Regions from separate parts of the Homo sapiens genome. Here all the other regions are linked to region 1. The links are contacts of gene promoters, found by promoter capture Hi-C in blood cells and fetal thymus (Javierre and others, 2016). All regions are on one chromosome and are shown on one strand. The core of a region is centred on a gene start or on the middle of the fragment in contact, and the rest is flanking DNA. Distances in the headings are between cores, read along the strand shown.

Region 1 (3,163 bases), core at 185-2,684:
CACGCCATTCTCCTGCCTCAGCCTCCTGAGTAGCTTGGACTACAGGCGCCCACCAGCACGCCTGGCTAATTTTTTGTATTTTTAGTAGAGATGGGGTTTCACAGTGTTAGCCAGGATGGTCTCGATCTCCTGACCTCGTGATCCGCCCGCCCTGGCCTCCCAAAGTGCTGGGATTGCAGGCGTGAGCCACCGCGCTCGGCCCTTTCATTTCTAATTCTTAATATTGTCTCCTAAACGTGCAGAGACAAGCACACGTTTTAAAGGCTAAGGAGGTTGTAGGTAGCAGAAGGCTTTAAAAAGTAGCACCTTACTCCTTCACTGGATGGTCTGAGCTGCAGGGACAGCTGCTCTTTGGCCTTCAGCTCACCTCAGAAACTAGAAATATTTATTTCAGGCTCTGTCCCATTGGCCACTGTGGTCAGGGGTGGAAAGCACCTGCCAGGTGTTGCCCTGAGATTGTCTGGGCTAACAAACTTTTCCACAAGCTTTGTGGTTGAACAGTAGCCCCCTCCTAACCCTATCGTTCCTTGGCGTCCAAACTACAGTAGGTGTCGAGTGCCCCCTGGGTGCGAAGCTCGGTATTAGGCAAATAAGGGTGGTTGCTCTCCAAGGCGCTTAGCTGTCCCCCCTTCCCACTTTTTTTTTTTTTGTTCGAGACTGCGTCTCGCTCTGTCGCCAGGATGGGGTGCAGTGGCGCGCTCATAGTGGCTCACTGCAGCCTCGATGTCCGGGGCTCTGGTGACCCTCCCACCTCAGCCTCCAGAGTAGCTGGGACCACAGAAGCGCGCCACCACTCTTAATTTTTTGTACTTTATTTGCAGAGATGGGGTTTCATATTGCCCAGACTGGTTTCGAATTCCTGGGCTCAAACGATCCGCCCGCCTCAGCCTCCCAAAGTGATAGAATTGCAGGGGTGACATGCCACTGCGCCCGACCAAGGCGCTTAGCTTTCTATTAAGTTTTCACAACCACTTTCCTACCACTATCTACTGTTCCTATTTTACAAATGACAAAACTAACCGACAAAAGAGCACTGGACCGTGGGACCAGAGCACGTCCCTGTGGGGTAACCTTGAGCTGGTCGCTTGCCCAGGGCGGCAGCGGATGTCTGAAGCGTCTTCCAATCCCAACATTAGACTTAATTCAAGGTCACCAGTGCTCAGCTGCGGCTGGAACTGGGTCTCGAAACTTGAAGGCCTTCTCTGCTACAGCCTTCGTTCCCGGGAGCAGAAAGAGGAAGTTTCTTAGCCGTGGGCACGCCGGCGCCTTCGCAGAGGCCCATGGCTTGAGGTCCGGCCCGAATGCGCAAGTTCCGACCTGAAATGAACTATGGAGTCCGGGAGGGGTCGCTTTGCTCCTCCGGAAGGCTTCCCCTTCAGCCAATCACCGTTCGAGGCCCGCCCCCGTCGCCGGAAGGAGCCGTCGCCCCGAGCAACTACAACGTCCGGCTTTCTGAGTTGGGTGGCGGGAAAGGCGATGAGTAAAGGCCGGGCAGAAGCTGCGGCGGGAGGTAACGGCGCCGTGGGCGCGGGGAAGACCCGGGAGGGCAGTGGGTGAGGAGGTCGGTTGAGTGGCCCCCTCCCCTGCCTTTCTCTCCGTAGCCGCCGGGATCCTCCTGAGGTACCTGCAGGAGCAGAACCGGCCCTACAGCTCCCAGGATGTGTTCGGGAACCTACAGCGGGAACACGGACTGGGCAAGGCGGTGAGGACCTTCTCCCGGGATTCCCTCTCCGTCGGACTCCCTGGATTCAGGCTGGGGTCGTGCCCTTTGGAGCCTTGGGCGTTTTCCACATCACTGGCTGGATTTCCCCAGACCCAGGCTCAGACTCCTCTGATTGCTCCTTCTCTCTCCTCTGCCAGGTGGTGGTGAAGACGCTGGAGCAGCTGGCGCAACAAGGCAAGATCAAAGAGAAGATGTACGGCAAGCAGAAGATCTATTTTGCGGATCAGGTGAGGAGAACTTGCGCCGATTGTCACCCATGAGAGCCCGACAACGGGTGAATCTACTCCTGGTGTGAACTCTTTGGGGACAAGGCCCCCCATGGAAAACTCACCTGTCTTAGGCCACCATCCTTAAATCAAGGTGTGTACTCCTCTTGTTAGGATCCCAACTTCACGAGGTTTCCAGATTTACAATATGATGGATGACAGAAGATTCTGTATTGTTGCTACCAAGATCCATTTCCGCTCCAAAGCTCTTATTCCTTATCATCTACATTAGCAACACCCTCTGCCAAATGATGTTCCTCCTGCCTCCATCCGATTCTCTAAACACACATATCAAATTTATATTCTCCAGCCCAGACCTCCAGCTGGAATCTGTCAGGCATTAATATCAGAGTCAAAATTGCCACAGTAGAATGCCTCATCTTCCCCCCACCCCGGACTGGTTTCTTTCTAACATTCTCCTCCCCTAATGGAATTACTCTTCACCCAAACCAGAAATTGGGAGCAATTCTTGACTTCCTTTACTAGTCAACCATCAAGTCCAGCTGATTTTTCCGTTTTTATTTATTTTTTTAATTTTTATAGAGATGGGTCTTACTGTGCTGCCCAGGTTGGTCCCAACTCCTGGGCTCAAGTGATCCTCCTGTCTTGGCCTCCCAAAGTGCTGGGAGGACAGGCGTGAACCACAGAGCCTGGCTAATTTTTCCATTCTTGAATCCACTCTCCTTTCCATCTGCCATGGTTGCTCTAGTTCACGCCCTCTTTATTTGTTGCAGTATCCTCCTAACAGATCTTGGCTCTTCAAACATATCTTAAACTCTTAAACATTGCAGTCAGAATGATCTGTCTAAATAGATCTGGTCATGCACCTTCCCTATTTAAAACTCTTCAATGGCTCTCTAGTGCTGCAAAAAACATGTAAAAGGCACCGGAAGACGCCCCAGCCAGCCTCTGGCCTCACCAATCCTCATTATTTTTCTATCCACGAACACTAGATAATTCTGGTGTGTTTTACTGCTCTGTCCTTTGCATGTTGTCTTCCCTGTACCTGCTTCTCTTCCTGGCCAGCTCTTTCTTTCCTTGAGGATTTCACTTAGACATCACCTTTTCCAGAAATCTTCCTTGAATGCTCCGAGCTAATTGTTTCTTTTTCAGGCCCTTATCTCTTTTTGTTATTGTTGTTGTTGTTGTTGTTGAGACGGAGTCTCGCTCTGTC
Region 2 (3,163 bases), core at 333-2,832, 220 kb before region 1:
TGCCTGGGCCATCCCCTGAATTCTTCCTATTACCCCATCGCTCCTCTCAACCCCCATAAACGCTTGTTTTATTTCTCTCTGACGTCTCTTATCTAACCATAGTACCTAGTCATTGCATATTTGTTCTAATATCTCCCCCAAATTGCACATGGTTTGAAGGCAAGACCTCTATCTCTATTTCATCTTTCTTTTCTCTTTTTTTTTTTTTTTTTTTTTAGACAGAGTCTCGCTCTGTCACCCGTCACTCAGGCTGGAGTGTAGTGGCGCCATCTCAGCTCACTGCAAGCTCCGCCTCCCGGGTTCATGCCATTCTCCTCCCTCAGCCTCCGGAGTAGCTGGGACTACAGGCGCCCGCCACCACACCCGGCTTTTTTTTGTATTTTTAGTAGAGACGGGGTTTCACCATGTTAGCCAGGATGGTCTCGATCTCCTGACCTCGTGATCTGCCCGCCTCAGCCTCCCAAAATGCTGGGATTACAGGCGTGAGCCACCGCGCCCAGCCTTTTTTTTTTTTTTTTTTTTTTTTTTTTTTTGAGACGGAGTTTCATTCTTGTCGTCTAGGCTGAAGTGCAATGGCACGATTTCGGCTCACTGCAACTTCCGCCTCCTGGGTTCAAACAGTTCTCCTGTCTCAACCTCCCGAGTAGCTGGGATTAGAGGTGCGCGCCACCAGTCCTGGCTAATTTTTGTACTTTTAGTAGAGACAGGATTTCACCATGTTGGTCAGGCTGGTCTCGAACTCCTGACCTCAGGTGAACCTCCCACCTCAGCCTCCCAAAGTGCTGGGATTACAGGTGTAAGCCACCATGCCTGGCCCTCTATTTCATCTTTCTAGCCAAGCGGTGCCACTCAAGTATTCCATACATGTCGAAGAAATCAAGGGGAGGGCACTGTTGTGACTTATCCATCACTATATCCCCAGCACCCCACAGAGAGGTGTTAGCAAACATTCTCTGAATGAATAAAATCAACGGAATCTCAAGGTCGGTGCCTGAAAGACACAAGCCCCAGTCTCCCAAGAACCCAGCACCCCGGCCCTGCAGCCGCACCCACGATCTGGGGCTCCCTGAAGCGGCCCAGCCGCCCCGAAGCCTCCCTCACTGCTTGCTCATTCTGCTGGGCCAAGTGAAGCAGGGCGTCTTCAATCGTCTCTGTGGCGACAACTCCAAACTGAAAGTCAACGAGGGAGGCCGATCGTGGCCTCATGGGTCCGTCCATATTCACGAGCCTCTTGGGGCACCTGGACGGGTTCACTGGATCCACATACCGACCCCCTTAGCTCCTCTCCAGTCTTCTGCCACACCCTGGATTCCTCGTCCCCTTCCAATGAGTGTGTCGTCGCCTCAAGTCTGAGGAAAACCCAATTACCACCACAGCCTCGAACCCTCCACAGCTTTTTCCCGCCCCAACGGCCACGGACTCCTCAGCCAATCAGAAAGCACGTCCGCTTCTCACCTCCCGCGTCCATCCCCTGTGCCCGGGAACCGCGGCTCTGCCCCGCAAAGGGCACGCGGACTACAACTCCCAGAGTCCACTGCAGCGGCCAAGGGCTACTGTTCCCAGCGAGGCCCGCGCGGCGGCACCGCGAAGGGAGGAGTGGCAACATGGCGTCTTCGGGAGCTGGTGACCCTCTGGATTCTAAGCGTGGAGAGGCCCCGTTCGCTCAGCGTATCGACCCGACTCGGGAGAAGCTGACACCCGAGCAACTGCATTCCATGCGGCAGGCGGAGCTTGCCCAGTGGCAGAAGGTCCTACCACGGCGGCGAACCCGGAACATCGTGACCGGCCTAGGCATCGGGGCCCTGGTGTTGGCTATTTGTATCCGTCCGTGTTGTAGACTCAAGGGGACCGCATATAGGGGCAGGGGAACAGAGTGTGCAAGAGGGCTGAACCACCCGTTTAATTTTGGGGTAAAATGGGTAGTACTTTCCTTTGTTATTCCTAAGGTACTCTTTTAATTTGATTTATTAATAATAACGGAATTGGGGTTCAGGGTTTAGAAACAGCAGCGGCGGGAAGCCGGAATCACTGATTTGGGAGAGTAACAAGAGTGGTAGAGCAAATCTAGGAAAGGGGAATGTGCATATTCTGTGTGGTTTCCTGAACCTACCTCCCCAGATGGTTACACCTTCTACTCGATTTCCCAGGAGCGTTTCCTAGATGAGCTAGAAGACGAGGCCAAAGCTGCCCGAGCCCGAGCTCTGGCAAGGGCGTCAGGGTCCTAATCTGGATGGGTATTGATCATGTCCAACCTGCTGGAGCCCCTTCACATGGTGGATGATGCCCCATGACCCTGTAGAAATTGAATCCTGCTCACAACATTGTTGGCCTTCTTACTAACCTTGGACCGTGATTGAGCCCAAGAAACCAGGGACTTACGCATTTGGCCAATGTCAAAAGAACAGAACTTTGCCCACTGCACACTTGCTGTGTACAATGACTGAGCCCTTTCTTGTAGTTTGTTTCCTTGTTTGAGAGGTGTGCATGCGACCGTGGCTTTTCCCAAAGTTTCTGACTTTGTGGTTTACCCCCTTCACCTTCCAGGGACGCAGTTGTTACGAGGTTAGACGTGGCAGCTCTGTGCAGTGTTTGAGCCTACAGTGGGATACATAGGGTCAAATTGAGAATAATAAACTGAGTCATTCTCCTGGAGTCAAGTGAGTATGGAGGCTGAGAGGCAGCATATGGCACTTCATGCTGGAAAGCTTCACAAGCAGTAGCTGCAGTGGTGGCATTGCCCCAGGGAGCTGTAAATGTTTAACTAGAATTACTTTTTCCATGAGATCTTTCCACCTGATTTAAGGGAGAGATCACTGGGCAGTTTGAGACTGAACCCACGTCTTAGGGGAAGGAAGGTCACTCTTCTGTCCTCTACCCACAAGAACATACTGTAACTCTACTGCTTTTCCCATCCCCAGAGAGAGGGAGGGAGAGAGAGGTGGATGAAGGGTGAAAGACAAGCAGTCTTCATTCTTTTAACTTTCCCTGGTACCTGCCTATACAGGTCTAGGGTGGGGTCTGGAGGGGATCCTAACTTAGTCAAGTGGATCACTGACCTTGCAGTTTCCTCATTAACTGATGGCAGGAAGCCAGAGGGCTGGGCAGCTTCCACCCCTGCCTCCCATTGTGAAAAGAAAGTCCCTTTTAAATCCTCCCCTGCCTC
Region 3 (3,163 bases), core at 388-2,887, 160 kb before region 1:
TATTGGATGATATGAGCAGGCACTAAATACAGTACAGTATTAAACTTTGGGCTGACACAGTACAGAACCAGTCAAGATAGGGCTCTAGCCTGTTAGGAGATTGCTTTTACTCTTCCAAGTCAGCGTTCTCACTGGGCACGGTGGCTCATGTCTGTAATCTCAACCCTTTGGGAGGCTGAGGAAGGGGGATTACTTCAAGTCAGGAGTTCAAGGCCAGCCTGGGAAACATAGCAAGATCTTGTAGGCTGGGCGTAGTGGCTCACGCCTGTAATCCCAGCACTTTGGGAGGCCGAAGCGGGTGGATCACAAGGTCAAGAGATCGAGATCATCCTGGCCAACATGGTGAAACCTGTCTCTACTGAAATGCAAAAATTAGCTGGGCGTGGTGGCTTGCACCTGTAGTCCCAGCTACGCGGGAGGCTGAGGCAGGAGAATCGCTTGAACCCGGGAGGCGGAGGTTGCAGTGAGCTGAGATTGCACCACTGCACTCCAGCCTGGCAACAGAGCAAGACTCCGTTTCAAAAAAAAAAAAAAAGATCTTGTCTCCACTGAAAATATAAAAAATTAGCCAGGCATGGTGGCATGTGCCCGTAGTCCCAGCTACTAGGGAGGCTGGGGCCAAAGGATCCCTTGAGCCTGGGAGGTCGAAGTGCAGTGAGCTATGATCATGCCTGGTCGGCAGAGTGGGACCCTTTCTCAAAAAACAAAATAAAATGAAATAAAATTAAACCAGAGTTATAAATCCTGTGAGCCAGCATTTTCCTTTGGGTCTCATAAAAACTAATCCTGTTTATGGTGAAACCCTGTCTCTACTGAAAACACAAAAAATTAGCTGGGCATGGTGGTGGGCACCTGTGATCCCAGGTACTCGGGAGGCTGAGGCAGGAGAATGGCGTGAACCTGGGGGATGGAGCTTGCAGTGAGCCAAGATCGCGCCACTGCACTCCAGCCTGGGCGACAGCGCGAGACTCTGTCTCAAAAAAAAAAAAACTAATCCTGTTTAGATTTTTGTTACCATTACCTCCAGTGCATACGATCTAATTTTTTTTTTGAGACAGAATTTCACTCTTGTTGCTCAGACTGGAGTGCAATGGCACGATCTCAGCTCATTGCAACCTCTGCCTCCTGGGTTCAAGCGATTCTCCTGCTTCAGCCTCCCGAGTAGCTGGGATTACAGGCATCCACCACCATGCCCGGCTAATTTTGTATTTTTAGTAGAGACGGGGTTTCTGCATGTTAGGCTGGTCTCGAACCCCTGTCCTCAGGTGATCCACTCGCCTTGGCCTCCCAAAGTGCTGGGATTACAGGTGTGAGCTACTGCACCCAGCTGATCTGATTCTCTTAATTAAGCAACACTAGGAAATACTAATGTTATAATTTTATTTTAAATTAGAATTCAGAGTCACAGGTTCCTGTTAGGAAGGTTCTTTCTGTGTGTAGTGCCCAGAAGCTCAAACTAATGACAGATGAAAATACCTCAGAGAAGTTGGAGGGTATAAATTAGAGATGTGCTTTATAGATCCTAACTGAGAGATCAGGCTGTGTACCTAGTCACAGAATTGATTTTAATTGAAATGTTGATGAAATTGGTGATCACCAGAATGACCCAAAGGTGTGTTACTAGAGCTCTTTGCAGGGATAGGTTCACCCCTATCATTCAGGTTTCAATTACACTATGAATCAAAAAAGGAATAGGATGAAATATTTAAAAATATAGGCCAGGGGCCAGGCGTGGTAGCTCACGCCTGTAATCCCAGCACTTTGGGAGGCCGAGGCAGGTGGATCACGAGGTCAGGAGATGGAGACCATCCTGGCCAACATGGTGAAACCCCGCCTCTACTAAAAATACAGAAATTAACCCGGCTTGGTGGCGAGCATAGTCCCAGCTACTCAGGGGGGGTGGAGGCAAGAGAATCGCTTGAACCCAGGAGGTGGAGATTGCAGTGAGCTGAGATAGCACCACTGCACTCCAGCCTGGGTGACAGAGTGAGACTCCTTCTCAAAAAAAAAAAAAAAAAAAAAATCTAGGCCAGGCCCGGTGGCTTACGCCTGTAATCCCAGCACTTTGGGAGGCCAAGGTGGGTGAATTACCTGAGGTTAGGAGTTCCAGACCAGCCTGGCCAAGATGGTGAAACCCTGTCTCTACTAAAAATACAAAAATTAGCTGGGGCAGAGGTTGCAGTGAGCTGTTATTGCACCAACGCACTCCAGCCTGGCAACAGAGTGAGACTCCATCTCAAAAAAAAATAAAAAAAATAGACTGGGCACGGTGGCTCACGTCTGTAATCCCAGCAGAGCGAGATTCCGTCTCAAAAAATAATAATAAATACAAATAATAAATACAAATAAATAAAATTAAAAAATAAAAATCTGTAGTGCCATCTGCCTCCAAAGGCTTACTTAGCCTTGCTGGTTAATAAAATTATTATTCAAGAGAAACTATCAAAGACACTGAATTTGCCCCTAAGACAAAGAAGCTGTTTCTGCAAAGGGACACCTTATGTAGATGAAAAAATTTAATAGTTTGGAACTTTTGTATTCTGATCTCAGTCTCTCTAAGTTTAAGAACTTGTTCCTTAAATTTTTTTTTTTTTTTTTTTTTTGAGACAGAGTCTTGCTCTGTCGCCCAGGCTGGAGTTCAGTGGCACCGTCTCGGCTCACTGCAAGCTCCGCCTCCTGGGTTCACGCCATTCTCCTGCCTCAGCCTCCTGAGTAGCTGGGACTACAGGTGCCCGCCACCATGCCCAGCTAATTTTTTGTATTTTTAGTAGAGACGGGGTTTCACTGTGTTACCCAGGATGGTCTTGATCTCCTGACCTCGTGATCCGCCTGTCTCGGCCTCCCAAAGTGCTGTGATTGCAGGCGTGAGCCACCGCACCCAGCCGTTCCTTAAATTTTTTATTGCCATACAATTTCAGTAATGTTTTCCCATTTCCACCTAGTGACAGACTACATTCTAGTTTTAGCCTTTGCAGCAAATTGAGATCCAGTTTTCTGGGGAAAGATTGCTACATTTTTATAGCTTTCTTTTCCTGTAGAGATGTGACAGTAAATAAAGTGGTTCGTATTTCCAATGATTAATCTTTTTAAAAAATAAACTCTATTTTTTAGAATAGTTTGTTTTTTAAGAAAGAAAAAAAAGAAAGAATAGTTTGTTTGTTTT
Region 4 (3,163 bases), core at 423-2,922, 140 kb before region 1:
TCCACCTCCCGGGTTCAAACGATTCTCCTGCCTCAGCCTCCCAAGTAGCTGGGATTACAGGCATGCGCCACCACGCCCAGCTAATTTTTGTGTTTTTAGTAGAGACAGGGTTTCTCTGTGTTGGTCAGGCTGGTCTTGAACTCCCAACCTCAGGTGATCAGACTGCCTGGCCTCCCAAAGTACTGGGATTACAGGTGTAATAAGGCGCCCGGCCTTGTTATGTCTTTTTACTCGTTTTTAATCTCAAATAATTCTATCACTTTTAAAATCTTTTTAAAAGTTCCAGGCTGGTTGTCTTGTAGGATGACCCACATCCTGGATTCATCTGTTGTTTTTTCACAGTGTCATTTCTGTGTTCTTCTGTCTCCTCTTTCTTATAACCTAGAAATTAGGTCTGGAAACTTGATTTTATTTATGTTAAAATGTTTGGCCATTATATTAAAATGGTGGCTCACGCCTGTAATCCCAGCAATTTGGGGGGCTGAAGCATGTGGATAGCTTGAGCCTAGGAGTTCGAGACCAGCCTGGGCAACATGGCAAAACCCCATGTCTATAAAAAATACAAAAATTAGCTGGACTGGACTTGGGAGGCTGAGGTGGGAGGATCAGTTGAGCCTAGAAGGTCAAGGCTGCAGTGAGCTGAGATCATGCTACTGTACTCACCTGGGTGACAGGGCAAGACCTCGTCTCAAAAAAATATATATATATATAAATACATATAATCTATTATATATTATATTATATATAAATACATATAATCTATAATATATATTATATATAAATACATATAATCTATGATATATATTATATATAAATACATATAATCTATAATATATAATATATAAATACATATAATCTATTATATATAATATATAAATACATATAATCTATAATATATAAATACATGTAATATATAGTATATAAATACATATATAATATATAAATTATATTTACATAAATTATATATATTTTATATTTATATAAATTATATATAAATATATTTATATAAATTTCATATATTTATATATTATATAAATATATATTTTATATTTATATAAATTATATAATTATATAATATATTTCCATATTATATATTATATATATAATATATAAAAATTATATGTAAATATATATAAATGTTTAAAATAGTATAATTGATACTGTATACTTCATACACAGCATAGGCACATAATATCAGGTTCAGTTAATTTTGAAACTTCTCTTTTGGAATTTCCTTTAGGCCTTACTGTATATTATTCCAAATTCCAGATACCCTTAATGATAGTTAACCTTTATTTTTTTTTCATTTTTATTACTCAAAAAAACTTCATTTTTAAATTGAGCTTTCTGACTCTGCTTGTGCCTTCAACACTTTCACAACAATTTTCTGCTGCTTGCTAAGGAAAGCACACTTGCTCCTGCACCAATACATTCAGCACACACGGATCCACCATAGGCCCTGCTGACATGCTTTTTTGTTTTGGACAATCTCATAGGAACTTTAGGTCTCATAGCACAAACCCCCCGAAGTCTGCTGGGCACACGCCACATGCAGATTTCAGTGCTTTCCCAACCCTCTTGGTATAAAGGTAATCAATTCTATTACCAGGGGCTCAGGACAGCCTAGTTTTGTTAAAAGCTATATTGTAGGAAAGCCTACATGTATGTCAAATGCTGGACCATTCTGAGTGCCTCTAGACAATGTCACTGGAAGATAAACCTTTATTTTGTAGAAATAGATTTAGTTTTCAGAAACAGCTAGGAAGTCTTTGAAAACCAAGTCTGATGAGAAAATATTGATGATCTAGGTGAGTGATAATTATTTCATTTTTTAAAAAAGGGGGTGATAGCTGTAAAATAATGAAACAATATTCTTCTGAGTTTCATACACAGATTTGGGAGGAAGTTTCAAAATTAAGTAGTAAGATTGTACAGATTAAGCATTACACATTTTATTAAGGAAACAGAGAAAGTGTGGTAGACTGGAAAGAATAGTGGCCTAGGGAGACAAGGAGCCCTGATTCCTATACCCCTCTGGAACTATTAGCTGCATACTCTCAAGCTAGTTTCTTCCCCTCTCTGAATCTCATTTCTTCATCCATAGGAGAATGTGTTCTCAAATTCCAAACAAGTAACACGCAAGTTAATTTTAGATACAACTCACTGGAAAATTGAAGACACAGATGCATAGATTATATCTTTTTTAAGATTATAGGACATTAGCTGGGCATGGTGACATGTGCGTGTGGTCCTAGCTACTTGGGAGGCTGAGGCAAGGGAATCACTTGAGCCCAGGAATTCGAGGCTGCAGTGAGCAGGCCTCTGCACTCCATCCTGGGCAAGAGAGAGAGACCCTGTCTCAAAAAAACAAACAAACAAAAAAACATTATAGGACAACTCTTTTGTGAAAAAGTACGTAAGTTTTGTTAAGCAGCTCTCATTGTTATATGATCATACTTATTATATGGTACAGAGAAAAAGAAAAGACACTATTATTGTAGACAGATGTTGTAAAGATGAAAGTTTGTGATGATGAGATCAATATGGTGATGGGCCTGTTCCTATTTCCTGTCTGTAATGTGTCCACTGCAGGAAGGAGCAAAGGAGTATGCCATGCTCCACAACCCCCGCTCCAAGTGCTCTGGTCGTCGCCGGAGAAGGCACCACATAGTCAGTGCTTCCTGCTCCAATGCCTCAGCCTCTGCTGTGGCTGAGACTAAAGAAGGAGACAGTGACAGGGACACAGGCAATGACTGGGCCTCCAGTTCTTCAGGTACGATGAACAGAAAATGAAGACTTTTTCTTTCCATGCAAGGACTCTGGTAAACCCAGGATCACTGCCTGACACTTAACTTTACTACCTCTTAAAAATTATAAATTCTTTCTACAAGTTTTGTAAACAGTAAAGATGGGGAATATTTTCTTTTTTTTTTTTTTTTTTTTTGAAACAGTCTCTCGCTTTTTTGCCCAGGCTGGAGTGCAGTGGTGCTATCTTGGCTCACTGCAACCTCCACCTCCCAGGTTCAAGCGATTCTCCTGCCTCAGCCTCCCAAGTAGCTGGGATTACAGGTGCCTGCCACCACGCCCGGCTAATTTTTATATTTTTAGTAGAGACGGGGTTTCGCCATGTTGGCCAGGCTGGTCTTGAACTTCTGACCTCAGG

Evidence for each region. Contacts are between HindIII fragments. The CHiCAGO score rates a contact against its expected background, and 5 or more counts as called.
Region 2: the fragment with the promoter of COA3 here is called in contact with the fragment with the promoter of PSMC3IP in region 1 in 1 of 17 cell types (endothelial precursors); the score reaches 5.1 in endothelial precursors.
Region 3: a contact is called between a fragment that was not itself captured here and the fragment with the promoter of PSMC3IP in region 1, in 6 of 17 cell types (megakaryocytes, erythroblasts, M2 macrophages and 3 more). The highest score is 8.9, in megakaryocytes.
Region 4: a contact is called between a fragment that was not itself captured here and the fragment with the promoter of PSMC3IP in region 1, in 5 of 17 cell types (megakaryocytes, M2 macrophages, erythroblasts and 2 more). The highest score is 11.1, in megakaryocytes.

The regions. Positions count from the first base shown.
Region 1 is chr17:42,576,000-42,579,162 of GRCh38, reverse strand. PSMC3IP (PSMC3 interacting protein) reads left to right here and starts at 1,434. Exons shown (of 8, transcript NM_016556.4): 1 at 1,434-1,510; 2 at 1,602-1,702; 3 at 1,861-1,950. The coding sequence starts at 1,477. RefSeq lists an enhancer at 1,083-1,172 and a silencer at 1,473-1,522. The HindIII fragment of the contact is 6,888 bases long and covers 488-3,163 here.
Region 2 is chr17:42,797,123-42,800,285 of GRCh38, reverse strand. COA3 (cytochrome c oxidase assembly factor 3) reads left to right here and starts at 1,582. Exons shown (of 2, transcript NM_001040431.3): 1 at 1,582-1,818; 2 at 2,119-2,661. The coding sequence starts at 1,605. The coding sequence ends at 2,225. CNTD1 (cyclin N-terminal domain containing 1) reads right to left here and starts at 1,425. Exons shown (of 7, transcript NM_173478.3): 1 at 1,050-1,425. The coding sequence starts at 1,218. RefSeq lists enhancers at 1,570-1,619, 1,640-1,689, 1,830-1,899. The HindIII fragment of the contact is 5,104 bases long and covers 1-2,707 here.
Region 3 is chr17:42,737,616-42,740,778 of GRCh38, reverse strand. All of the region lies in intron 1 of EZH1 (enhancer of zeste 1 polycomb repressive complex 2 subunit), which reads left to right. Among named protein-coding and RNA genes, the nearest start is that of EZH1, 5.8 kb to the left of the region's middle. The HindIII fragment of the contact is 9,431 bases long and covers 1-3,163 here.
Region 4 is chr17:42,712,819-42,715,981 of GRCh38, reverse strand. It overlaps EZH1 (enhancer of zeste 1 polycomb repressive complex 2 subunit), which reads left to right. Exons shown (of 21, transcript NM_001991.5): 11 at 2,593-2,773. It also overlaps the pseudogene RPL34P30. Among named protein-coding and RNA genes, the nearest start is that of MIR6780A, 6.2 kb to the right of the region's middle. The HindIII fragment of the contact is 9,418 bases long and covers 1-3,163 here.